2 separate regions of the Homo sapiens genome follow, and region 2 is linked to region 1. Evidence: promoter capture Hi-C in 16 types of primary human blood cells and fetal thymus (Javierre and others, 2016). All regions are on one chromosome and are shown on one strand. Each heading gives the region's core, a stretch centred on a gene start or on the middle of the fragment in contact. The rest is flanking DNA. Distances are from core to core; before and after follow the strand shown.

Region 1 (4,893 bases), core at 1,254-3,753:
AGAGAATCCAAATGGAAGGTTAAAACTGGATTCTAGTACAAATAGGTTAAAACTAGATTTGACTAAACCTACCTCTCCATCCAACTGAATGTGAACCTGTTTTTGTTTGTTTTATTTTTTCATTTTTATTTATTTTTTGTTTTTGAGACAGAGTTTCGCTCTGTCGCCCAGGCTGGAGTGCAGTTTCGGCTCACTGCAACCTCCACCTCCCGGGTTCAAGCGATTCTCCTGCCTCAGCTTCCCAAAGAGCTGGAACTACAGGCGTGTGCCACCATGCCCAGCTAATTTTTGTATTTTTGGTAGAGACGGGGTTTCACCAGTTGGCCAGGATGGTCTCCATCTCTTGACCTCTTGATCCGCCTGCCTCAGCCTCCCAAAGTGCTGGGATTACAGGCGTGAGCCCCACCGCGCCCAGCCTGTTTTATTTTTTAACCAGCTGAGTCCGGCAAGAATTCCTTGCCATTCTGCGATAATGTAATGGCCTCTTGAGAGTCCTTTACAGAAACACAGTTTAGATGTACATAACATACTAAGAAGGAAACCATTTAACTTGACAATACCACACCCAGATAATTCAGATAACTAATCGAATTTTTCATCGGAATTATTTGGTTTGGCCAAGTTAATTAGGTAACAAATACTTTTCTTTTCTTTTCTTTTTTTTTTTTTTTTTGATACGTAGTCTTGCTCTGTCGCCCAGGCCGGAGCGCAGTGGTATGATCTCAGCTCACTGCACCTGGGCCTCCCGGCTTCAACTGAGTCTCCTGCCTCAGCCGCCTGAGTAGCTGGGACTACAGGCACGCCACCACGCCCGGCTAATTTTTGTATTGTTAGTAGAGACTGGGTTTCGCCATGTTGGGCAGGCTGGTCTTGAACTCCTGACCTCAGGTGATCCAGCTGCCACGGCCTCCCAAATTGCTGGGATTACAGGCGTGAGCCACAGCGCCAGGCCTTTTTTTTTTTCTTTCTTATACATTGTTTACACTCCTCACTTACTCCTGATTCTTAACAGTTGCCACAACCTTTCTTCATTTAAAATCTAACTCAGTTCAATCAGGAAGGTCACTTACCTTGAAAGTCTTCCTTCTTTAGAGCTGGGGTGCATGGTGTTCTTGTTGGCAGAGTAGAAATGAGATATCAAGGAAAAAGAAACTGTAACACAACTGGGAACCCTTAACTCATTGTAAGAACTGCCTCCAAATCAACTTCCTCAAAAACTAAAGAACTCTTCGGGAGAGAGAGACTGGCTGATAAACAATCTAAGGGGAAAACTTTTAAAGATTGTAACACTAAAAATAATTCCGTAAAACTACAATGCAAGTCTACTCAACAAAACTTTAAAAATATAATTTTATTTTTCTTTCAAGAGATCATGGGAAAATCTACTATTTTCGTTTAAAATATATAACTTCTATTTGTTACTATATTTGGATTTGAGCTACTACTATTCTGGATTTGTTCCCATGTATCTGTGGAACCAGGCAGCTAATTAATCTTTACTCAGCATCTCTGGTATTTCTTGAATGAAAATGGAATGGATTGGTGGAATTAATGGCTAGATGTTTAGAAGACACTACTTACTTTGTTATTTTCTCTGTATAATGATGAAAGCCTACAACTATACAGAGACATAAACGAGCCAGGGTGACAGGTTGGGAAAGATGAAGAGGGAGGAGGAAAGGATAGGCTTGTAGCCCTCATCCGGTCAAATTCCCAACTTTGAGCTTCACTTTATTGTAAAATTAGAGGCTAAAACTATTTAACGCTTCCAAAACTTTTTGATTCAACAAATGCCAATTAGTTACTAACATAATTAATCAGTGTATCCTGATTTTTAAAAGATATTTTCCTTTGTGATTTAAAAGAAACATGGGAGTTGGAGTTGCAGCGTCAGTCCTGAAGGACTGACCTCGGGAGGCCAGGTAGGAACTGATAAACTGGCAACAAAATCACATGTTTTCAACTGAATATACTGATATTCAAGCGTCCAGAAAAACAATTTCGAGCCTACGTTCACAAGTTTGCCAGAAAGCCCTATTATTGACACAGCTGCGGATCTCAGACATCTGAGTTAGTCAGCACCATTCTGCTGGAGGGGATTAAGACTGGACGCTTCGAGCGGAGTTGGGAATGTTATCATCTGAGGAAACTAAAAGGCGCCAGCAGTAGGACTTTCTCCAAGGTCTCTGACAAAATATGTTGCGGGAAAAGTCAACCCGCCCCAAATTCCCCCGTGTGGCCCTAACTCGAGGCTCTGGCTCCTCGCGCCGGCAAGCTGAGGAAGAGACGGTCCCCTGCGATTTAGATACAAACGCGCGCGTGCAGGGAAGGCCATCCCAGGGCAGACACTGCCACCTCCGCCGCTTCCGACGCCCGCGCTCGCGGGAGAGCCTAGCGCCGCACGGGAACCTCCCGACCACCGCCGCAGCGCGGATGGGCGTCCCCGGGAGCCAATGGACGCGCCGGGAGGCGGGGCAGGGAGGCCGAGGGGGCGGGATTTCCCGCACGGCCGCTCGGCGCCTGGAGAAGGCTGTGCGGGCGGGGACGGCTGCAGCCCTTGCCGGAGAGGGCGGGCCGGGGTCAGCTGCGGCGGGCGGGCCGGCGCGGGGAGCTGTGGGCGGCAGCTGCGTCTCCTGCCACCGCCCTCCCTCCGCCACGATGCCGGGGATCGACAAGCTGCCCATCGAGGAGACGCTGGAGGACAGCCCGCAGGTGAGGCGCGGGAGCTGGTGGGCGACGAGGGAGAGCCCAGCTGGCCGACCCCAGGTCTGGCGCCTCCGCGGCTCCCGCAGGTGCCCGCCCCGGCCCAGGTGGGGGCCGCCGCCGCCCTAGGTCACCGCCCGTCGCAGGCCGCGCCCGGAGTTGTGGAGGCTGGGCCCGCCGCCCAAGGCCCGCGTGGGCCTGCTCGGCTGGGCCGAGGGCCGCAGGCGGAGACCGAGCCGCTGGTGCTCGTGGGCCGGGCGGTCACGTACGCGCGCGGGTCCTTTTTATTTGACGAAAGGCGCCGTTTTTATCGCGGTGATGTGAGGTGCCAAATCTCGATCCTGGAATTTTCTCCCTGAGAACCTCTTCAGAAAAATTGCAGAAGGGAGAGAAACCCCGATAGTCTTATTTAATGATTTCCGAGGCTCAGCAAGCTAAGGAAGGAAATGGATCGTTTTTCTTTGGGAGAGGCTGTAAGGTTGTGTGTGGAGCCCTAATGGCAAAGCCCGTGACGGGTCCCGGAGCCCAAGACCGCTCTCCCCGCCGAATGTGCCCGTGTCGCGGCCGTGACTGTGGTCGCTGTCACTCGAGCTGTGCACGGCGAGGGATGGACGGTGCCTTCGCCGCTCCGCGACTGCTGCGCTGCTCCCTGCAGACTTGGCCTTAATAAACTCATCAAAATAAAAGCCCTGTGTTCTGTGCGTCGGAATGATGCTGATGTGGTTGCTCTAGCTTAAGACAGTTTTGGAAAATGTAACCATTTAATATGTTTTCAGTACTGCAGAATGAAAGCAGCTATATTTTTTAAAATGTTGGCAGGGGCTGTAACTTGCATAGGGAAAACTTCATCTCTAAGCCGTTTTACACGATAATTTAAACGGTTTAAGACGGTGTTGCTGGTTGGACACTATTTAGAATGAAACATTTCTGAATTGTTGCTGATTTAGAAATGCAGTTGCACCATTTCGTGTGTCTTTACAGTTGAACATGGCCCCCAAAGAAGAAAAGCAGAAGAGGTCTAGATCTCCTTTTCCTGGATGGCACTTCTGCCATGGATTTTGTGCCAATGTTAATTGCCAAGTTGAAATGGGGCTCTGATTGTAGAATTGATTTGTTCTTTTTTATTCTGAAAGTTATCTTCACAGGCCAGTTGCCTGCTGCTAATGTACTCTTAACAGCTGATAGTGACAAAAAGAGAAACTCACATTTGGTTTATCTTGACTGCCAGTATACTCGGTTCAATTTTTTTCTTGATGATTTCTCCATATAAAGTTATAAACTGTATTTGTTTCAGATGATTTGCAAAAAGTTTGTGGAATTGGTCAGGTGTACTTTGTCATTTTACTTTTTATTATGTAAGATTCAACAGGTTGCCTTACCTTTCTTCTCTTACTTGGCTTTTTTTTTTAATAGCCCATAAAGACTATAAACGGCTCAGAATGGATTGCACACTGCCCTGGAAATGACTTGTGAGGCAGAGATAAACTCTTGACTCATCTAATGTCTTGAGGTTTTTGCCAGATTAGTTTACAACTTAAGAATTGTGGTTTTTTTTTTTCTTTACAAGCATGCATCATACTAGTGTCCGTTTTACAATATATTTGTTTGTTTTTTGAGATGGGGATCTTGCTATGTTTCCCAGTCTGGAGAGCAATGGCTGTTCACAGACACTATCGTAGTGCACTGTGTCCTGGAACACCTATGCTGAAGTGATCCTCCTGCCTCAGCCTCCCTAGCAGCTGGGAATACAGGCGTGTGCCACTGTGCCAGCTTTTTTTTTTTTTTTTTTTTTTTTTTTTCCTGAGACGGGGTTTTGCTCTTGTTGCCCAGGCTGGAGTGCAATGTTGCAATCTTGGCTCACTGCAACCTCTGCCTCCCGGGTTCAAGTGATTCTCATGCCTCAGCCTCCTGAGTAGCTGGGATTACAGACGTGTGCCACCACGCCCACCTAGTTTTTGTACTTTTTGTAGAGACGGGGTTTTGCCATGTTGGCCAGGCTGGTCTCGAACTCCTGACCTCAGGTGATCTGCCCGCCTTGGCCTCTCAAAGTGCTGGGATTACAGGTGTGAGCCACTGCGCCTGGCCTGTGCCAGCTAATTTTTAATGAAGTAGACACATTGATATCCCTTCAATGTTGAAAGGCAATAAATTTGAACTAGGTAAAATTTACTTGGGAAAATTAATTGGTAC
Region 2 (4,893 bases), core at 1,035-3,534, 440 kb after region 1:
CTCAACTCTAGATGATAGTTACTGTACAGTACAACTCCACTCCCACATCTAATTCAAGAATTTATTAACAAATGAAAGAAAATTACCTCAACATTCTAATCCATTTTTATAAATCACAGTGACATTATGTTTCAAACATAGTAACTGTATAAAGTCCCTTTCATTCAGATGCTGAATCCTTATGAATAAGACTCACTTTGGAAATTCAGCTATATAATATAGTAGCAAAACAAAAGCAAAATATTTCTGAATGGTGTCAGCGGTAACTGAATAAATGAGTTCTAAAGTTTCCTCTCACATGGACATTTTCCTATGACTACTTTTCCAACCTTTAAGTAAACTGGTAAATCTTTGTCAAATTGATCCAGGAGACAATGCAGCGACACCCTCCTCCCAGAAGACTGTCGAAATCTAAAACAAAACTGGGTATCTCCAAGACAACCTAATGAAAATAAAAATGAAATAAATTAAGGATAGCTTAGTATAACATTTATCCAGTTTCATCAATTTTAGAGCTGAAAAAAATCCTATCAATCATTTTAACCCATTCTGTCATGTTTTGGAGGAAAAAAAGAAAATCCTAAGAGTTCCAGTGACTTGCTCAAAGCCATCCTTGCTGGTTAGAGGCAAAGCCAGAAGTAAAACATGCATCTTAACTCCTAAGTCTCTTTACTATTTTTCCTATTCCATATCCCTCATGTAATTAAACATTTTTGGAATATATCTGCATATAATGTTGACTCACAAACATAATAATGAGCAAAAGATGCCAAACACAAAATAACACATATTGTTCAAATCCACTTTTATAAAATGTTTTGAAAGCAGGAAAAACTAAACTGTCGTGCTTAGGGATGCATGGCTGGGTGATAAAAGTATAAAAAAAAGAAAAGTATTGTTATAAGAAAGGATAGTGGTTACATTTGGAGGAAAGATTCACCTCAATTTCCTTGTCAACAAAATCAAGGAGTACTATTAGATAATCTCTAAAGTCACTTCCAGCAGTAACACTCAAAGACACTAAAATAAAATTCCCCAATTTGACCTATGACTGTACTGAATTCCAAGCATCTTACCCAATACGATCACTAAGAAAACTAAAGATCTACAAGATCCAAAAAGATATAAAAGTTATGCTATGAGCACCATAGCTTTCTGATGATTCACTGAAAAATAGAAAAATTTTAATGGAAATTGACTTTTTCTTTTACAAACGTAGTTATAAGAATTAACTTACATAATTTTATTTTTTTGAGACAGAGTCTCGCTCTGTTGCCCAGGCTGGAGTGCAGTGGCGGGATCTAGGCTCACTGCAACCTTCACTGCTCGGGTTCAAGAGATTATCCTGCCTCAGCCTCCTGAGTAGCTGGGATTACAGGTGCGTGCCACCACGCCTGGCCAATTTTTTGTATTTTTAGTAGAGATGGGGTTTCACCATGTTGGCCAGGTTGGTCTCACACTCCTGATCTCAGGTGATCTGCCTCCCAAAGTGCTAGGATTACAGGCGTAAGCCACTGTGCCTGGCCTTTTTAAAAAAAATTTCACTAGAGATGGGGTCTTGCTATGTTGCCCAGGCTGGTCTTGAACTCCTGGGCTCAAGTGATCCTCCCACGTCAGCCTCCCAAAGTGCTGGGATTACAGGCGAGAGCCACCACACCTGGCCTTAAAATGTTATTTTTATATTTGTACAAACATAGCTACAGAGTGGATCAAAATGCCTAAGACTAAGACAAAACGTGAAGCTTCAAGAGCCAGCCCCCTCCCTTGACCCTCAGCTTATATAGTCACTCTCTCTGTGATTAGGGTGGTTAAGCTAGGTTGCTGAGAAACAGTATTTTAGACCAGAGCTTCTCACAATTTATTCCATAGACTGACGCCAGTCCATAAACTCTTGTTACTGTTCCATAACCAAATAAATATGCAAGTTGAGAATATATATTTAGAAACTTTCATAGCAACTTGATATTGCTGTAATAAATTTGGACTTTTAGACCAGACACAGTGGCTCACGCCCGTAATCCCAGCACTTCAGAAGGCCAAGGCAGGTGGATCTCCTGAGGTCAGGAGTTTGAGACCAGCCTGGCCAACACGGTGAAACCCCATCTCTACTAAAAATATAAAAATTAGCCGGATGCGGTGGCAGGCACCTGTAATCCCAGCTACTCAGGAGGCTGAGGCAGGAGAATTTCTTGAACACAGTAGGCAGAGGTTGCAGTGAGCCGAGATCACACCACTACCTCCAGCCTGGGCAACAGAGCAAGACCCTATCTCAAAAAAAAAAATTAGACTTTTATTTTACATTTCTTTTTTTTCCTCATTTCATTTTATTTTTCTAACAATTCAATTAAATTGTTTTTCAAAAATATTGGTCCATAACTGACTGGAAATATTAAAAACCCCAACTGGCCCTTCAACACGGTATGAGAAGTGCTGCTTTAGCAACTGGGAAGTGTAAAGCACATGATGATGTCCCTGCTGTCTACAAAGAAGAAATGTGTTGAGACGAATATTGTCTGCATGTCAAGTCCATCCAGAACAAGGAGGATTAATGTTTCCCTCAGATTCATCATTGCTTCAAACTCTCTCTACTAATGCTGAGTTTTTTTCTCTGGACATGTTTAAAATACAGTGACTTCTGTCCTTGGGCACTCATCACAGCTTAAGCCTCAGGAACACCTACATCCAGATGATGTTAATGGTAAATGATAAGGAAAAAAACACTGGACAAATATTTATCAGAGGGAAGGCCCTCTTTAAACTTAGGCTCCTAAAGATAAAAGCCATTCAAATGAAACAAAAAACTGAAACCTAAAAAACCAACCAAACAAAGCTTTTTTAAAGTCAGGAGAATCTAAGGTGGCGGAGGGGCGGGGAAGGGCAAACGATTCCAATCTCAAAAGCATTTTTATCTGTGTCATTTTTTCATCCAGTCTAACATGCTGTTTAAGTGGGTATACAATGGAAATAAAGGCTTGATTTATGTCTCTTTCCTAAAGACTGCTCTACTGTGTCTGGACTTTCTTCTACAGCAATTAAAGGTTATCCTGGGAAATAACAAATTCATTTCAAAGTTGGTACAGTAATCCTTTTTTTTCTTGAGATGGAGTCTCACTCCGTCGCCCAGCCTGGAGTGCAGTGGCACAATCTCGGCTCACTGCAACCTCAGCATCCCTGATTCAAGAGATTCTCCTGCCTCAGCCTCCTGAGTAGCTGGGACTACGGGCACACACCACCACGCCCAGCTAATTTTGTATATTCAGTAGAGATGGGGTTTCACCATGTTGGCCAGGCTGGTCTCGAATTCCTGATCTCAAGTTATCTGTCCGCCTCAGCCTCCCAAAGTCCTGAGATTACAGGTGTGAGCAACTGCACCCGGCCTCCAATTTTCATTTAATAAACACATAAAAAAACCAAACTGTATGGATAACTACAACTGAAAATAGCAATTTCAAATATTTACAAAACATATAGTCTCTTGCTACCTAGGACAATGATGATCTGTTAAGACAGCAAAGTGCCTGCTTTCAGGTCTTTTGTAGATTTTCCTTGTACCAACCATACTTCAAGTCACAAGAACCACACTTCATTTGATGTGCAGCACATAAAAAAAGCATTAAATAATATCTATGAGAAAAAAATCAGTCAGGCGTGGTAGCTCACACCTCTAATCTCAGCACTTTGGGAGGCGGAGGTGAGCGGATCACAAGGTCAGGAGATCAAGACCATCCTGGCTAACACAGTGAAACCCCATCTCTACTAAAAATGCAAAAAATTAGCCAGGCGTGGTGGTGGGCACCTGTAGTCCCAGCTACTCGGGAGGCTGAGGCAGGAGAATGGCGTGAACCCGGGAGGCAGAGCTTGCAGTGAGTGGAGATCGCGCCACTGCGCTCCAGCCTGGGCAACAGAGCGAGACTCCATCTCAAAAAAAAAGAAAAGAAAAAAAATCAGCCGGGTGCAGTGGTTCACACCTGTAATCCCAGCACTTTGGAAGCCTGAGGCAGGCGAATCACTTGAGGTCGGGAGTTCATGACCAGCCTGGCCAACACAGTGAAACCCCATCTCTACTAAACATACAAAAATTAGCCAGGCATGGTGGCAGGCAAAGGTGTCCCAGCTACTTGGGAGGCTGAGGCAGGAGAATCACTTGAACTGGGAGGCGGAGGTTGCAGTGAGCTGCGATCGTGCCACTGCACTCCAGCCTGGGTGACAGAGCAAAACTCCATCTCAAAAAAAAAAAAAAAAAAGAAAAAAGAAAAAAAAAATCTGTAGGTCATTCATAAGCCAAAAGTACTTAAAAATTTTTTTGATAATGACACATGCAGAGGCTATAAAACTAGATATAGGCTATCTAAACACCACAGAATTAACTTCTTAGCCTTGATGTATGCATGCGGGGGACTTTTCCTCTACCATCTTAGGTTCACTAACTGGGGCCTGTGAAATAAACAGACAACAGATTAACGAGAAAAGATTTAGTTCGAATGCATACAAAGGCTTCAGAGAAAAAAAGTAAAAACCCAAAGAGGTGGTTAAACTTGGGAGCTTAGATACCATTTTAACAAAAGAAACTAAAATGCAGACAAAGGAAAAAGGATTTGGACTTCTAGGGGTGGTAATCTGTGGGAAGGTAAACATATGGGTAAAACTAATGAAAGATAAGGGTTATTTTAGCAAGGCTTATTTATGCAGAATTAAGCTGGTACCATCTCCAGTGATAAAGAGTTTTCTCTGGTGATTCAGAATTTTCTCCTCTTCCTGGTATGGGAAAGGGAAGGGGTGACACCTTCACAAAAGGAAATGTATGTCCTGCTTTTAGGCATATAGGGGGAGGGTAAAGGGCTCTTTTTGCATCTGCTGTTTCTCAGTTGCCTTCAACTCAAAATAATTCTTAAG

What was found. The method cuts DNA at HindIII sites, captures the fragments that hold promoters and counts their contacts. A CHiCAGO score of 5 or more calls a contact.
Region 2: a fragment that was not itself captured here is called in contact with the fragment with the promoter of APPL1 in region 1 in 2 of 17 cell types (total B cells and monocytes); the score reaches 6.4 in total B cells.

What each region holds. Positions count from the first base shown.
Region 1 is chr3:57,225,226-57,230,118 of GRCh38, forward strand. APPL1 (adaptor protein, phosphotyrosine interacting with PH domain and leucine zipper 1) reads left to right here and starts at 2,504. Exons shown (of 22, transcript NM_012096.3): 1 at 2,504-2,712. The coding sequence starts at 2,659. It also overlaps a transcript of HESX1 not described here. RefSeq lists a silencer at 2,302-2,961. The HindIII fragment of the contact is 8,451 bases long and covers 1-4,893 here.
Region 2 is chr3:57,665,794-57,670,686 of GRCh38, forward strand. DENND6A (DENN domain containing 6A) reads right to left here. Exons shown (of 20, transcript NM_152678.3): 4 at 330-442. Among named protein-coding and RNA genes, the nearest start is that of DENND6A, 25 kb to the right of the region's middle. The HindIII fragment of the contact is 1,088 bases long and covers 1,741-2,828 here.